Regions from separate parts of the Homo sapiens genome. Here region 1 is linked to region 2. Evidence: promoter capture Hi-C in human tissues and cell types (Jung and others, 2019). All regions are on one chromosome and are shown on one strand. The core of a region is centred on a gene start or on the middle of the fragment in contact, and the rest is flanking DNA. Distances in the headings are between cores, read along the strand shown. Region 1 has its middle 4.2 kb from the start of MYLK2. Region 2 holds the start of COX4I2 (cytochrome c oxidase subunit 4I2).

Region 1 (3,600 bases), core at 512-3,011, 180 kb before region 2:
GTAAATAACTGATTAACCAGAAGGCTCCAGACTGGAGTTTGTTACCTCCCTATGCTGGACCTTGCTGGCATCTCCTTGTTATTATTGTGGTTATCAATACCAGTCATTTATTGAGTGCCCACCAACGGCCAGGCCAGACTATGCCAAAGATCCAGCTCCCTGGATCCTCAGAAGGGACTGTAGGGGCCAATGTTACACCATTTTAAAGGTGTGGAAACTGATGCTCACAGAGGGAAGTGGCTTGTCCCCACAGTCACTCAGCTAGTGAATGGCTTCAAACTACCCACATTCAAATCCAGAGCCACCTCCCAATGAGACCAAAATCCAGCCTGGGACAACTTCAGGGGCATTAGTGCTACTTTTGTTATAATTATTATTCCCAAATAATTACTCTTATTGAACTCTTTCTAAAATGGACCAGGCCCTGGGGTAAGCAGCTTCATGAGTATCCTTCCTTCGAGTCTTACAACTCCCTACCATGCAGTGATTAGGAGATCTGTCAATGAAGCGCTGCGACCAGTAACTGTGAGCTTGGAACAATGTCTTCACCTGTTTCCTCATCCGTAAGGAGAGCATCTGCCTCCCAGGAGGTAGATAAAGCATTACAACAGTGAGTGTGAGCATAGCGAGTGCTGTATAAATGTCAGCTCTTTAATCCCCATTTCACAGATGTGACAGGAAAACTGAGTCACAGGGCAAAGTCATAGAGTTGGGATTGGACCCATCTAACCCAAGGCTCTGCTCATAACTGCTCTGCCCCATTGCCTCCCTCTCACAGCATGGCTGCGAGCATTTAGCCAGCACACATGTAAAGAGTGCCCAATGGCACAGTACCTACAGCACTGTGGGGGCCTGATAATGTCGTGGACACCCCAGGTAGAGGGTTCATCTGTTCCCGCCAGCTCCCCTGCAGTGCCTCCCACTGGGATGAGAGTCTGGCCTGGTTCCGAATCTACGGGACTGCCTGCTCCAGCCAGCTGCTCCCTGGGAGTCCCCAAGCTTCTCAGCACTCCCTTGGAGGCACAGGGGTGGGGCACGGGGAAACTTCCTCCACCCACCTAGGGGCTGCCAGAGCCCCTGCCCACCCTCAAGAAGGGGCTTCCCCGCCCTGCACCAGCTGTGCAGACACCCTCTTTGCCTCTACAGGGGCAGGACAGGAAGTGGGGCAATGCCAAGACCAATTAAACCCGCCAGGGGAATTAAGGTCAGCAGGATGCAATTATGCCTGTTGGATTTAACAAGGCCAGAGGGAAGGTTTCTCCAGCCAGAGTTCACGGCTCCTTAGGCCTCTTGCCCTGTGTAGCTCTGCCTTCCAGGAGCCTAGGCTTCCAGGCTCACCTAGCTCTGGAAGAATGTGTTGGGGGTGAAGGGGTTAACTTCACCCAGGCACTGCTTCCTTGGCTCTGGAGAGGAAATCAGTTCAGCCAAGAGGCTTTAAAAGGACCTGTTCGGAGAAGTCATGCCCAGTCTGACCCTCTCCCTGCCCAGCTGTGATGGAAAATCCAAAGAGTTGAGCAACAACCTTTCTGACTCCAAAGAGAGCAGCCAACTCCCCTCACAGCCTTCCCTCTGCTCCTGTTTGAGAGCCACTCAAGGCTGCATTAGCACGTTGTTTTCTCTCGCCCTCTCCCACCTTGGACCCCTGAGCCCAGGGCCTTGGCAGGACCTCTCAGGCCTCTGGAAAAGCCCTAGGTAAGGTTGCTGTCCTTACAGCAGACCCTGTCCTTCCAGCCAAGCTAGTAAGCAGAGGTCTGTGGGCGTTCTGTGTGCAAATTGGACATAGGTTTCTCCGAAAACGCAATTGACACACTGTTCCATCCCACAGTTATAGAATTTTATTGCTAAGATTAATTACTGGGGGCTCTACTGTGACAAGGACTAAACTGGTCACTTTCAGGACACAGAGATGAAATTGGGGGAGAGCTATAGAATCACTGCATATTACATTTTAGGTGAAAAAAGACTATAAAAATCAACCATGCCTGTAATCCTAGCATGTTAAGAGGCCGAGGCTGGAGGATCACTTGAGCCCAGGAGTTCACGACCAGCCTGCGCAACATGGTGAGACCCCATCTCTGCAAAAAAATTTAAAAATTCGCCAGGCGTGGCAGTGCACACCTGTGGTCCCAAGCTACTCAGGAGGCTGAGGTAGAAGGATTGCTTGACACCAGGAGGTTGAGGCTGCAGTGAGCCATGATTGTGTCACTGCACTATGGCCTGGGTGACAGGGTGGGCCCCTGTCTCAATAAATAAATTAAATAAAAATCAGCCATAGAGCGGGATCCTTTTTGTTCAAAATATTTACAAAGAAGATGGCTGGAGGGATATAAATGGACATATTTACAGGCGTAGAAATAGAGATTATTTTTATTCTTTATTCATCTAGATTTTCCAACTTTTTTGGAAATGACTTGTAACTCTTAATCAGATCAATAAGTAATTCCAAATATATCAACGTGGACACAGATTTCTTCAGAGAGAAAATGGTAAGAGCTATAAAACACCATGAAAGGACTTCTTGGCTCAGGGCCTCAGAGAACTCGCAATTCAGCTACTGCAAGGCTTTCTCAGTAACTAAGCCCCAGAGTTGGTTTAAAATGAAGCCTCCTGGCTGGGCGAAGTGGCTCATGCCTGTAATCTCAGCACTTTCGGAGGACAAGGCAGGCGGATCACTTGAGATCAGGAGTTCAAGCCCAGCCTGGCCAACATGATGAAACACCATCTCTACTAAAAATATAAAAATTAGCCGGGCATGGTGGTGAGCACCTGTAATCCCAGCTACTCGGGAGGCTGAGGCATGAAAATCACTTGAACCCAGGAAGCAGAGGTTGCAGTGAGCCAAGCTTATGCCACTGCACTCCAGCCTGGGCAATAGAGCAAGACTAAGTCTCAAAAATAAAAATAAAATAAAAAATAAAATGGAGCTTCCTTGGAATGAGGCCCCAGAAATGTCTATAAACCAGCATTTCAGGTGATTTTTCATGCACATCCAAGTTCAAGAACCACCAAGTCAGAGAGCCAGCTCTCTAGAAAGCATCCTGAGAGCCTTGGAAGAGGGAACAGATTTGAGGCACTGTCCTGACAGTCACCCTGGTGCAGTCAGTGGAGAGCTTCCAGGATTCATATCCCTATAACCCAGGGCCACACTTCTCAACCCTGATGCACACTGAAAACACCTGGAGAGTTTCTACAACTCTTGAAGTCTGAGCCCCTCCTCAGCTCAGACCAATTAAGAACATTTGGAGTGGGGCCCAGAATGTTGGTATTTTTAAAAATCTCTCCAAAAGATTCTGATGTGTGGCAGGGTGAAGAGCCACTGATCTAAGGCTTTCCTAGGACAGGAACTTCATTTTCTTTTTTGTATGTTTCTTTTTTTTTTTTTTTTTTTGAGCCGGAGTCTTGCTCTTTTACCCAGGCTGGAGTACAGTCGTGCAATCTCTGCTCACTGCAACCTCCACCTCCTGGGTTCAAGTGATTCTTCTGCCTCAGCCTCCTGAGTAGCTGGGATTACAGTTGTACACTACCATGCTCAGCTAATTTTTTGCATTTTTAGTAGAAACAGGGTTTCACCATTTTGGCCAGGCTGCTCTCAAACTCCTG
Region 2 (3,593 bases), core at 415-2,914:
TCAAAAAAAAAAAAAAAGGAGGTTTATAATAGCTTGGGGTACTAGTAAGGGCTCAATAAATGTTATCTTTGTTATTCTCCATGGGTCAGCAAGGCCCTTCTGCTATCTGGCTGAAGTCTCTCCTACTTTAGGTCTCTTTCTTCTTACTAGCATTGAAACTAGGGTCTGGAAAGGAGGAATCAGGGTCCAAGGTTCTGTCAGCATCCTCCACCTCAGAACAAAAGGTCTAGGGGCCTGAGGCTTGGGGGCTGGCTCCTAAGGAAGCTTGGAATGGAGATGACCACTGTCTGCTCACCCCGCGCACTCCATTTCCTGGAGAAACTTGACCTTGGACCAAGGAGTGGGATCATGGGAACATGGGAAGTGTGGTAGGAACAGGCCCAGGGTGGCATGGAAGGGCAAAGGGGGCAGCCTGCAGAGGGGACCCCTGCCCCTATCTCTGGAGTTAGGCAGGGAGGAAGGAGTCCAGGTCTCACTGGTGCCTTCTGAGCTGTGCATCCCTCGTCTTCCACCTCCACCTTTCCTCAGCACCAAGCTCCAGGCAGCTCTGGGGAGCATCTGGGGGCGTGAAGGTATAGATGAGTTCTGCCCCCACATCACCCTCTGCCCCCAAACCGCAGGGCCAGATGGAAAAATCCTTTTCCACTGGTATGGTAGTGGTAGGGGTGTCCCAGTGTTTCAAGGTCACCCTCATGCCCTTGACCCTTCTAATTTTGTCTGATATCCCCAGCGGGGGGCCAATGGGGGTCCTAGACCTTTGAAGCCCCTTTTTGGGACCTCAATTCACCATCTGAGAAGTGGGAGGAGGCCTAAGTCTTGGGCCAGGGTCTGAAGAGTTTGAGGCTGAGGGCTTGGGTTCTGGTGCCAGCCCCAGCTCAGTCTGGCCAGATTGGAGAACCCCGCTCACTTGTTTGCTCCCCAGAGGAAGCTGGGTGGGGTCCAGGTGGAGAGGGAGCAGTTCTTGAGTCTCTCTTCCCTGCAGGGGCCAGAGGCCCCTGCACCGGCAGAACAGACAGACGGTCTGGCCCCCACCCCTTCCCCCCTAATTGGCTGCCTACGTGCACACAGGCCTGCTCTGCTGGATCTGGTTGGGGTGGGGACTGGGCTTAGCCAGTCTGGCTGAGCCCAGTCTCCCACCCCCAGGGAAGACTCAGGGTTTGGCATCCATGGTGGTGGGGAGGGGCTTTAGAGGATGGGGACTTAACTGGGTCAGAGGGAGGGAGACACACATCTGGGGAAAAGAAGGGGAGTCCCACATCTAGGGAGAGAGAGGGGCACCCAACAAATAGAGTGAGGGAGGGGGCACACTACAGGTGATAAGTGGGAGGGGGCGGCCCACACTTCTGGAAAAGAGGGGCTCCGGCCAGTGATTATGATTAGTGGGTGGGAGAGCTCCACATATCAAGAGAGGGAGGATGTAATCTATATTTGGGGAAAGAGATGGCACACATATGCAGACTCCCCAGGAGTCTTCAACTCTAACCTACAAGAAGCCCCCCAACCCTCTAAGACAGGGACCACTGGGGCGTGACCCAGCGGCGAAGGCAGGAGACCGAGCCGCGCCCCTGACCCGCGCGGGCTTGGGTGGCGGGGTCCTCCCCCAACTCACTCACCTCGCGGGCTCGGCAGTGGGAGCGCGACCTGGGTCTGCCCAGCGAGCAACTGAGAACCCGCTGCGGAGGGACCTGAGTGCGGGCGCCCGCCCCCGGCCCGCCCCACAGCCTTTCTCGGGGCCGCCCCAGCGTGGGAACGTCCTGCTTCGGCAGGGCGTGGGAGCGCACAGCCTGCGTCCCTGGGGGCACCCCGGCCCACAGATTGGGGGGAGGCACTGCAGAGCGCCTCCTGCATCAGTGTCCCTACCGGGGTCCTGCCTCTGGAGACCCTCTGCAGACAGTAGTCCCAAGAACAGGGTCTCCCTGCCTCCTCCACACCTCCCCTCCTTGCTGTTTCTCCCACCTGGGATGTTCTCTTCAGGCCTTTGCAGACGCAAACCTTCCAGCCAGGCCCAATGCCTCCTACTCCAGAAGCATCTTTTAGGCCAGCAGTGGCTCACGCCTGTAATCCTAGCACTTTGGGAGGCCGAGGCGGGAGGATCACCTGAGGTCAGGAGTTTGAGACCAGCCTGCCCAGCATGGCGAAACACCTTCTCTATTAAAAATAGAAAAATTGGGCGGGCGCGGTGGCTCATGCCTGTAATCTCAGCGCTTTGGGAGGCCAAGGCAGGCAAATCACGAGGTCAGGAGTTTGAGACAGCTTAGCCAACATGGTGAAACCCCATCTTTACTAAGAATACAAAAATTAGCTGGGCGTGGTGGCACGCACCTGTAATCCCAGCTACTCAGGAGGCTGAGGCAGGAGAATCGCTTGAACCCGGGAGGCGGAGGTTGCGGTGAGTCGAGATCCGGCTACTGCACTCTAGCCTGGGCAGCAGAGCTAGACTCCATCTCAAAAAAAAAAAAAAAAAAAAAAAAAGTTAGCAGGGCGTGGTGGCGCGCACCTATAGTCCCAGCTTCACAGAGGGCTGAGGCAGGAGAATCACTTGAACCTGGGAAGCGGCTGTTGCAGTGAGCCGAGATCGGGCCACTGCACTCCAGCCTGGGCAACAGAACAAGACTCTGTCTCAGAAAAAAAGAAAAAGAAAAAGAAAAAAAAAATTCCCAGCACTTTGGGAGGCCAAGGGGGGCAGATCATGAGGTCAGGAGATGGAGACCATCCTGGCTAACACAGCGAAACCCCGTCTCTACTAAAAATGCAAACAAAATTAGCCAGGCATGGTGGCAGGCGCCTGTGGTCCCAGCTACTCAGGAGGCTGAGGCAGGAGAATGGCTTGAACCCGCAAGGCAGAGGTTGCGGTGAGCCAAGATCATGCCACTGCACTCGAGCCTAGTGACAGAGCGAGACTCCATCTCAAAAAAAAAAAAAAAAAAAATAGACAAGGCTCAGGCACATTTATTCAAGAATTACTTATAAAACTGGGCGTGGTGGCTCATGCCTGCAATCCCAGCACTCTGGGAGGCGGAGGCGAGCAGATCACCTAACGTCAAGAGTTTGAGACCACCCTGGCCAACGTGGTGAAATCCCGTCTCTACTAAAAATACAAAAATTAGCCGAGTGTGGCAGGGGACACCTATAATTCCAGCTACTCGGGAGGCTGAGGCTAGATAATCGCTTGAACCTGGGAGGCAGACGTTGCAGTGAGCCAAGATCGCACCACTGCACTCCAGCCTGGGTGGTAGAGTGAGACTCCTCAAAAAAAAAAAAAAAAAAAAAAAAACTTAAAAAAAACTTATAAAGACCTGTTTCAGCTGGCATTTATTGCATACTTGTTTACCAGGATAAATGTTGGGGGCTATAGAGCCAAAAAAAACCAGACATAGTTCCTGCCCCCACAGGGCTTACAATTCTGTTCTAGGCAGAGGAAAAGGCCTGTGCAAAGACCCAGAGGCAGGAAAACACAGCATGTTCAAAAAACAGAAGAGACAGGCCAGGTGCAGTGGCTCACGCTGTAATCCCAGCACTTTGGGAGGTCAAGGCAGGTGGATCACAAGATCAGGAGATCGAGACCAGCCTGGCTAACACGGTGAAACCCCATC

Evidence for each region. The method cuts DNA at HindIII sites, captures the fragments that hold promoters and counts their contacts. A contact is called where the count stands out against the background at its distance.
Region 1: a contact is called between a fragment that was not itself captured here and the fragment with the promoter of COX4I2 in region 2, in 2 of the 25 tissues and cell types used here (adrenal gland and spleen).

What each region holds. Positions count from the first base shown.
Region 1 is chr20:31,813,377-31,816,976 of GRCh38, reverse strand. No RefSeq gene overlaps it. Among named protein-coding and RNA genes, the nearest start is that of MYLK2, 4.2 kb to the left of the region's middle. RefSeq lists an enhancer at 491-1,293. The HindIII fragment of the contact is 4,370 bases long and covers 1-3,600 here.
Region 2 is chr20:31,635,983-31,639,575 of GRCh38, reverse strand. It overlaps COX4I2 (cytochrome c oxidase subunit 4I2), which reads right to left and starts at 1,664. Exons shown (of 5, transcript NM_032609.3): 1 at 1,614-1,664; 2 at 477-558. The coding sequence starts at 558. RefSeq lists a silencer at 1,604-1,743. The HindIII fragment of the contact is 12,374 bases long and covers 1-3,593 here.